2 separate regions of the Homo sapiens genome follow, and region 1 is linked to region 2. The links are contacts of gene promoters, found by promoter capture Hi-C in blood cells and fetal thymus (Javierre and others, 2016). All regions are on one chromosome and are shown on one strand. The core of a region is centred on a gene start or on the middle of the fragment in contact, and the rest is flanking DNA. Distances in the headings are between cores, read along the strand shown.

Region 1 (4,880 bases), core at 2,135-4,634, 82 kb after region 2:
ATAAAAAAAATTAGCCAGGCGCGGTGACAGACACCTGTAGTCCCAGCTACTCGGGAGGCTGAGGCAGAAGAATAGCTTGAACCTGGGAGGCAGAGGTTGCAGTGAGCCTAGACCACGCCATTGCACTCCAGCCTGGGCAACAGAGCAAGACTCCGTCTCAAAAAAAAAAAAAAAAAAGAAGAAGAAGAATGCTCATTTAATTTCTTGCCATGCTAGCTACCCCTCAGAAAAGTGTCAGTTTCCTCAGGCTAACCAACTAACATTGCCAGGCGTGGTGGCTCATGCTTATAATCCCAGAACTTTGAGAGGCCGAGTCAGGTGGATCATCTGAGGTCAGGAGTTCGAGACCAGCCTGACCAACAAGGCGAAACCCCGTCTCTACTAAAAATACAAAAAATTAGCTGGGTGTGGTGGCAGGCTCCTGTAGTCCCAGCTACTCAGGAGGCTGAGACAGGAGAATTGCTTGAACCCAGGAGACGGAGGTTGCAGTGAGCCAAGATCGAGTCATTACACTCCAGCCTGGGTGACATAGTAAGATTCCATCTCAAAAAAAAAAAAAAAGAAAGAAAGAAACTAACACTGAAGCAAATAGAAGCTTTTTGGCCATTTCCAGTGTGAGATTCCCACAGCATGACTCACCCTGCCACGGAGCTCTGGAGGGGAGCACTGGTAAAGCAGCTAAAGCCTTGACTGCTGCAGTCAGCATGGCCTCCAGGAACAACAGTGCTCTGCTGAGCAGGCTCCATGGGCCCTGCCCACTGACATCCACTTGTCAAAGTGGTGGGGTTAGGCAGCATGTTTTCCACCAGCCTCTTATGGATGTGGGACCGGATGGAGCCTCTGACCTAGGCAGGTATGAGCTGACTGTGACTTCTAGCCTGAACATGGCCAGACAGCTTCTTTCTGCCAGCAGCTTGAATGGAAAAGTAACAAGAAAAGGGGTCACTTAGCAGGAGAAAGAACAGAAAACAAAAGGATGCAGACACTGATGTCCAAGTGTTACAGGATCTCTGGGGTGTCAATTTTTCTGGTGGGAAACCTCTGCGGCCGAAGCACCTTTGCCCGAGTTCTCACCCTGCATCTAGGAAGAATGAGGTACACAGACAAGCGCAGGGTGGAGAAGAAGAGTTTTATTTAGTGTTAGAACAGCTCAGAGGAGTGGGTGGCTCAGGGCAGCGGAGGGGGTCCTTCCTGGGGCTGCTGAGGGTGCAGGCTGCAGAGACACCTGGCTCCCGCATCTAGGAGGGTGGCTGCAGCCACACCCTCACCCAGAAAGGCAGATCCTGCCTGCTGCCAGCCCTCCCCCAAGAGCACAGGGAGGCTCAGATGAATCCACAGCTACAGTTTGGGTTCCTGTAGCCCCACCCAGGAGAGTGGGGTTCCTGCCTGCTCTGTAGAGCAGGAGGCCTGGGTCTGCAGCTGCATTGGGCGGCTATAGCAGCACCCGGGGAGCTCCTGTCCCAACTCAGAAGGGGTGGGGCTCTCACCAGCTCCATGGAGTGTGCTGCCATCACAACTAGGTTTGTGTCCAGGATGGCCAAGCCAAGGAAAAGAAGGAGCAGAAACTATGAATATGCAGAAGAAACTCCCCTTGGGGAGAGGAGAGGATATAAGAAGAGAAGCAGGGGACCTAGCGTGTCCTAAGAGACCACAGGGAAAATGACAAAGGAAGAGAAGTGCTCTCTTTGTTGCAGGACTGGAGAGGCAGAGGTGGAGTGTCATTCAAAAAGCCATGTTAAATATCCTAACACAAACTTCTACTGGAAAATTTTAAAGTAATACAAAGTGCCAAATGTGAAGTTTCATGAATCTTGGCTGGCAGCAAACCACTGAGGATGATATGACCCTGGAAATCTATGTCAGAATCTCAGCTGGGTGAGGATGGAGCATGTGTGAAGTTGAAGTGCAGTTTTATCTAAGAGGGCAAAGGTTTAAAAAGATTGAGAAACTGGCCAGGCACGGTGGCTCACGCCTGTAATCTCAACACTTTGGGAGGCTGAGGCAGGTGGATCACCTGAGGTCAGGAGTTCAAGACCAGCCTGGCCAACATGGTGAAACTCCATCGCTACTAAAAATACAAAAAATTAGCCAGACGTGGTGGCACGTGCCTGTAATCCCAGCTACTTGGGAGGCTGAGGCAGGAATCACTTGAACCAGGAAGCGGAGGTTGCAGTGAGCTGAGATTGCGCCATTGCACTCCAGCCTGGGCAACAAGAGCGAAACTCCATCTCAAAAAAAAAAAAAAAAAAAAAAAAAAAAGATTGAGAAACTCTTCCCTTATACTTTCCTCACTTTTTCAATTCTCTGAATTCTCACTCTAATTTCCCTCTTGAAGATGCCCTTCTTTGATACCTGGGGAGCAGAGTAGAGCCTCTATAAGAGCTCTTTCTTCTATTTTAATGACATTGGTTTGCCTAAGAATGAAATATTAGTCCAAAAGTGAATGTGGACATTAATAATAGAGGCCAGTTATACCAAGCCAAGAAAAGCACTTAAAAAAAAAAACCAGCATTCAGAGGGAACAAATAATTTTAGCTGTCAAATCCAAAAATTGTGTATCTAACCCACTGAACTGTGGAATTTATTTTCTTACATAGCAAAAGATTCCTCAACTTAGTCAACAATCAGGCTACAAATTTCCGCATATCCATCTTTTTTTTTAAAGCAAAAAGTGTACATCAGTGTATTTAAAAAAATTTTTTTTATCTTCTGTAAATGTTATATTCTTAAATGTAAATTCTTAATGTAATGCACATCTTCAGGCCTATTAGAGAGAACACAAGGAACAAATTGCTCAGTGAAAAGCACATGAACTTCCATATTAGAAAGGAGTCCCAACTCTGACATCCCCCTCCTTTCTAGCTGTTTGATTTGGGAAGAAATTGGTTTAACGGTTTAACAACTGTCTTTTGGGTTTTTTTTTTGGTGGGAGGGACAGAGTCTAGCTCTGTAGCCCAGGCTGGAGGGCAGTGGTGCGATCTCAGCTCACTGTAACCTCTGCCTCCCAGGTTCAAACAATTCTTCTCCTCAGCCTGCTGAGTAGCTGGGACTACAGGTATACGCCACCACACCTGGCTAAGTTTTGTTGTTGTTGTTGTTGTGTTTTTGGGTTTTTTTTTTTTTTTTTTTGAGACAGAGTCTCACTCTGTCGCCCAGGCTGGAGTGCAGTGGTGCGATCTTGGCTCACTGCAAGCTCAGCCTCTTGGGTTCATGCCATTCTCCTACCTCAGCTTCTCAATAGCTGGGACTACAGGCGCCTGCCACCACGCCTGGCTAATTTTTTTGTATTTTTTTAGTAGAGATGGGGTTTCACTGTGTTAGCCAAGATGGTCTTGATCTCCTGACCTCATGATCTGCCTGCCTCGGCCTCCCAAAGTGCTGGGATTACAGGTGTGAGCCACTGCGCCCAGCCCATTTTTTGTATTTTAGTAGAAATGGAGTTTCACCATGTTGCCCAGGCTGGTGTCGAACTCCTGAGCTCAGGCAATCCACCCGCCTTAGCCTCCCAAAGTGCTAGGATTACAGGCATGAGCCACCGCACCTGGCTAACAAGTTTTTAATCTTCGATTTCTTGATCTATTGAATGTTTAGAGTATGACTTATTCATAGGGCTTTGGAGAAACAAAAATGAACTTTTTCAAAGGGTGAATATCACTCTCCATTTAGTTGTCCAAGTTAGAAACTTATGAATCATTCCTAATACCTCCTAGTCTCTCACTCTCCACGTGTAATCCAAAAGTAATCCAGTAGGTTCACCCTTCAAAATATATCTCAATTATTCCCCCTTGTCTCCATCACCACCACTGTTATTAGTCTTAGACGTCATGGTTTTTCACATTCACTGCTGCTCCCATCTCCAGACTGGTGTCTCCACTTGCTTTTCCCTCGGTCCCCAGTCTACCCCATATAGCAGCTCGTTTTTTAAAAGCATAAATCATACCATTCTTCTGCTTAATTCTGATGATGTCCCACTATAGATAGATAGATAATTTTTTTTTTCTTTGAGACAGAGTCTCACTCTCTCCCTCAGGCTGGAGTGCAGTGGTGTGATCTCAGCTCACTGCAACCTCTGCCTCTCAGGTTCAAGCGATTCTCATGCCTCAGCCTCCCAAATAGCTGGGATTACAGGCGCGTGCCACTACACCTGGCTAATTTGTGTATTTTCAGTAGAGATGGGGTTTCACCATGTTGGCCAGGCTGGTCTCAAACTCCTGACCTCAGGTGATCTGCCTGCCTCGGCCTCCCACCACTATAATTTTTAAATGACATCTTCACTGAGATATAATTCACATACCATAAAACTCGCCCTCTTACAGTATACAAATTAAAATACACAATGTGGTTTTAGTGTTTTCACAATGTTCAATCATAACCACTATCTAATTCCAGAACACTTTCATCACCCCAGAAAGAAACCCAATACTCATAAGTAGTTACTACTATTCCCACCCCTTCCAGCCCCTAACAAACACTAATCGATTTTCTCTCTCTATGGATTTGTCTGTTCTGGACATTTCATATAAATGGAATATTATAATACATGACTTTTGAGGTCTGGCTTCTTTCACTTAACATAATGCTTTCAAGATTGATCTGTGTGTCAGCATGTATTAGTACTTCATTTATTTTAATTGCCAAGTAATATTCCATTGTGTGGATATACCATATTTTGTTTATTCACTCATGAACATTTGGTTATTTTCACTTTTTGACTATTACAAATAATGCTATGAACATTCATGTGCACATTTTTGTGAGGACATGTATTTTCAATTATCTTGGGTATATTCATAAGAATAAAAATGCTGAGTCATATGGTAACTTTATGCTTAACTGTTTAAGCAACTGCCAAATAATTTTCCAAAGTAGCTGTACTATTT
Region 2 (4,726 bases), core at 2,227-4,726:
CCACTGCTCAGCCAGGTCCCACCCTGTGGAGCACTTTCATTTTCAATAAATCTCTGCTTTTGTTACTTCATTCTTTCTCTGCTTTGCTGTGCATTTTGTCCAATTCTTTGTTCAAAAAGCCAAGAACCTGGACAACTTGTAGTCAAACCTTCTACTGGTAACAGTGTCACTAAATATTTTTCAAAAGCAAGATTTTTAAATAGCTGTATAATGTTGTAATGTGGCAGTACAATTATTATTTAGTCTTTCTCCTGCTATTAGAGTCAGCATTCATTCAGCAATTTAAGTACTATTGGGTGTGCTAGCAGATAAAGGTTTATTGATTATTGAAGATAATCCTTTTCTCAGGCATCACAGGTTGTAGGGGTAGGGACTGAACATTGAACTTCATATGGTATGGCTGTCTTAGGGGTACAGGCAGGGAGCTGTCAGCTTATAACTGGTCATTTAAACCACGAGGAAGTGAAGATGGCATTGCTCAGGGAAACAGGTAGGAAGCTAAGAGAAAAAGACTGAAGGTGGCACCCTGAGGAACACTCAATTGCATTGAACTTGAGATGCACTCAAATCTCTAGATCCCCATTTCCAAACATACATCTCCACTCATTTTTGTATGGACTTACTCAAAAAATTCAAAAACAGCCATTCTTCCTCTTGCCACCACATCCCTCACCCCTGAGATGCCAAGAACATGGAGCTTAAAAATTAGAGTGGTGGTCAGAGACGCCCCTGGGAGGAGGGCAAGGCTGGAAGCAAAGCCCATTCTGTGTGGCTTGTTCATCTTCCTTTCCCTTACATCATTGTCAGGTAGTCTGAGTTGTAATTGGATCATTAAACTTGTTCTGGGATTCCTTCTAAACTGCATGTGTCTGGCACATTTGCCCCACCTGCACAACCAGGAGCCCACCTGTCTAAGCACTGACTCCCCCTAACTCATGCTCCCCCTGTGCTCTCTTCTCTGCTGGAACCATCCTGAGCTGGGTCCCCACTCTCCTTCCACTATAGTATGGTACTTTTTCATAGGGCAGCCATTGACCACTTTGGAAACTAGACGTTCTGCTCTTCAAGCCCTTTGCCCCCACAACTCTCAGGGCTTGTTCTAGGTGGAAGCAGGAAAAGATGGGCATGCTAGTCCAGGACCCTCTATAGAAGGAATATCGGAGGGAAGCACAGGGTAAATCCATGGAGGCCCAGCCATGGAGGAGGAAATGATAGTCATAGGAAATGCCAAATGTCAGAGTGAGATTCAAGACATATTTGTTATTAATCAATTATGCAATGGTGTGATTGCATAAATAATGTGATTTTAGTTGGTTGTTTATTTGGGATGGAAATGTAGTCAGAAATTATTAAGTTGGTTATTGTGTCCCAGTACGCAATCTTTGAGTCAAATGACATTTGATTAGAAAATGTTCTTTCTTGTCTTACATTAAAGCTCTTTCCAGGGGCCTCAACAGGGGATAAAATATTGTGTTTTCTCAGAAATCTAGCAAATCAGAAGGTGAATGTTCATGATTATGATCTCTAAAGGAAAAGAAATTCTCTAATACAAGGTTTTGTTAAGCACAATGTTCACATAAGACATTTGAGGGAGAACCCCTTAAAAATAAGAGTTTAGGGCCAGGCACGGTGGCTCATGCCTGTAATCCTAGCACTTTGGGAGGCTGACGCGAAAGGTCAGAAGTTTGAGACCAGCCTGGCCAACATGGTGAAACCTCATCTCTACTAAAAATACAAAACTTAGCCAGGCATGGTCACGGGTGCCTGTAATCCCAGCTACTCAGGAGGCTGAGGTGGGAGAACCGCCTGAACCCAGGAGGTGGAGGCTGCAGTGAGCCGAGATCGCGCCACTGCACTCCAGCCTGGTGACAGAGCAAGACTCTGTCTCAAAAAGAAAAAAAAAAAAAAGAAAGAAAAAGAAAAATGAGAGATTATAATACCACAATGGATTCTTCACACAGATTATGCTATCCCTTGTTTGAAGATTTTCCAACATATGGCAAATTCTCTTTGTTTTTGGTCTTAACTGAGATTGGAAAAACTGAACTTAGTGTCATTTGAGGGAATTATTATAATGCAGTGTTTCTCAAACTTGGCTGTACATTATAATCACCTGGGGAGCTTTTATAAATCCCAGCTGTCCAGACCACACCATGGGCCAATTAAACTTTTCGGGTGCGACCCAGGTGTTTACCATGTGCAAAGAAGTTTGAAAATGACTAAAATAGGTAACTCTGAAGTCAAACTGCCTGGCTTCAAATTCCAGGCCAGCCACTTCCTAGCCATGTGACCCTGGGCAAGATATTTGATTTCTATGAATTCTATCAGAAAAAAAGACAATAAAAATAACATATTTTTGTAGGATTGCTATGAGGTTTAAACAAGATAATCTATGTAAATTATTTATTAATTTGCTGCAAAAGTAATCACGGTTTTGCCATTAAAAGTGATGGCAAACACTGCGAATCCTTTTCACCAACCTAACACAATGGGGCAGGCATATGTGAATTCCATAGGCTGGGCACAGTGGCTCACACCAGCACTTTGGGAGGCCAAGGGGTGGGGAGGAATGTGAACAATTTTCACAAGTTCAAGACCAGCCTAGGCAACATAGTGAGACCTCCTCTCTACAAAAAAATTAAAAAATTAGCCTAGTGTGATGGTGCATGCCTGTAGTCCCAGCTACTGAAGTGGGAGGATTGCTTGAGCCTGGGAGATGGAGGCTGCAGTGAGCTGTGATCGTGCCCCTGCACTCCAGCCTGGGTGACAGAGTGAGACTTTGTCTTAAAAAACAAAAAAATGAAGTTCTATGGTAATTATTATTAACTAACAGCTTTCTTATTTCATATTAATTACTCTGCAAGACACTTCCAGCATGGTTGCCCCATCTGACACTCATTCACCTCGTTGATTTTTTTTTGTTGTTGTTGTTGTTCTATAACATTCATTCATGCACAAATTCATTTTACAAGTATGTATTCATCTAACATTGACTTAACTATGAGTATGACAGAAGACACAAAAGAAATGTACACATCTGCCTCACCTCCCTTGGAGTTTATCTTCTCTAGTGTGTTCGTGTTTTCCGGTTCAGATCATAAGCATCATGAGCTAAGGGACCATGTTTTATGCCCGGACAGCCGTAGCACCCGGCGCTGCGGATTGGAGACACTGCTAGGCACCCGGGCTGGAAGATTGGGTTCTAGTTCTTGTTTTGCCGCTTACAGGCTGGGTGACAGGGAGCAATCCTGTTGTCCTCAATAGGTGTGTTTCCTCATCTGAAAGTGTACACAATCCATCCATGACTGCTGTGACGATTACAGGTCTACACAACGCGCATGTGGATTTGTCTTGCAAACGTCCACCATCAGGCCCTCAGGAAACAGTGCCGCGCGTGCCCACCAAGGGGCAGCAGATCGCAGTGCAGAGGCCCGCGGCGCTCGACGTCAGGGCGCACGTCCCACCCCGTGACCATGACTGTGACCGTGACCGAGAGCGTCGCTGGGGCACGGCCAGGCGGCGCGGCGGGAGTGCACAGGACGCGCCATGGCGGCCGAAGCCTCGGAGAGCGGGCCAGCGCTGCATGAGCTCATGCGCGAGGCGGAGATCAGCCTGCTCGAGTGCAAGGTGTGCTTTGAGAAGTTTGGCCACCGGCAGCAGCGGCGCCCGCGCAACCTGTCCTGCGGCCACGTGGTCTGCCTGGCCTGCGTGGCCGCCCTGGCGCACCCGCGCACTCTGGCCCTCGAGTGCCCATTCTGCAGGCGAGCTTGCCGGGGCTGCGACACCAGCGACTGCCTGCCGGTGCTGCACCTCATAGAGCTCCTGGGCTCAGCGCTTCGCCAGTCCCCGGCCGCCCATCGCGCCGCCCCCAGCGCCCCCGGAGCCCTCACCTGCCACCACACCTTCGGCGGCTGGGGGACCCTGGTCAACCCCACCGGACTGGCGCTTTGTCCCAAGACGGGGCGTGTCGTGGTGGTGCACGACGGCAGGAGGCGTGTCAAGATTTTTGACTCAGGGGGAGGATGCGCGCATCAGTTTGGAGAGAAGGGGGACGCTGCCCAAGACATTAGGTACCCTGTGGATGTCACCATCACCAACGACTGCCATGTGGTTGTCACTGACGCCGGCGATCGCTCCATCAAAGTGTTTGATTTTTTTGGCCAGATCAAGCTTGTCATTGGAGGCCAATTCTCCTTACCTTGGGGTGTGGAGACCACCCCTCAGAATGGGATTGTGGTAACTGATGCGGAGGCAGGGTCCCTGCACCTCCTGGACGTCGACTTCGCGGAAGGGGTCCTTCGGAGAACTGAAAGGTTGCAAGCTCATCTGTGCAATCCCCGAGGGGTGGCAGTGTCTTGGCTCACCGGGGCCATTGCGGTCCTGGAGCACCCCCTGGCCCTGGGGACTGGGGTTTGCAGCACCAGGGTGAAAGTGTTTAGCTCAAGTATGCAGCTTGTCGGCCAAGTGGATACCTTTGGGCTGAGCCTCTACTTTCCCTCCAAAATAACTGCCTCCGCTGTGACCTTTGATCACCAGGGAAATGTGATTGTTGCAGATACATCTGGTCCAGCTATCCTTTGCTTAGGAAAACCTGAGGAGTTTCCAGTACCGAAGCCCATGGTCACTCATGGTCTTTCGCATCCTGTGGCTCTTACCTTCACCAAGGAGAATTCTCTTCTTGTGCTGGACACAGCATCTCATTCTATAAAAGTCTATAAAGTTGACT

What was found. Contacts are between HindIII fragments. The CHiCAGO score rates a contact against its expected background, and 5 or more counts as called.
Region 1: a fragment that was not itself captured here is called in contact with the fragment with the promoter of NHLRC1 in region 2 in 1 of 17 cell types (megakaryocytes); the score reaches 5.8 in megakaryocytes.

Annotation. Positions count from the first base shown.
Region 1 is chr6:18,039,186-18,044,065 of GRCh38, reverse strand. No RefSeq gene overlaps it. Among named protein-coding and RNA genes, the nearest start is that of KIF13A, 54 kb to the right of the region's middle. The HindIII fragment of the contact is 5,573 bases long and covers 598-4,880 here.
Region 2 is chr6:18,121,427-18,126,152 of GRCh38, reverse strand. It overlaps NHLRC1 (NHL repeat containing E3 ubiquitin protein ligase 1), which reads left to right and starts at 3,476. Exons shown (of 1, transcript NM_198586.3): 1 at 3,476-4,726. The coding sequence starts at 3,547. The HindIII fragment of the contact is 6,107 bases long and covers 1-4,172 here.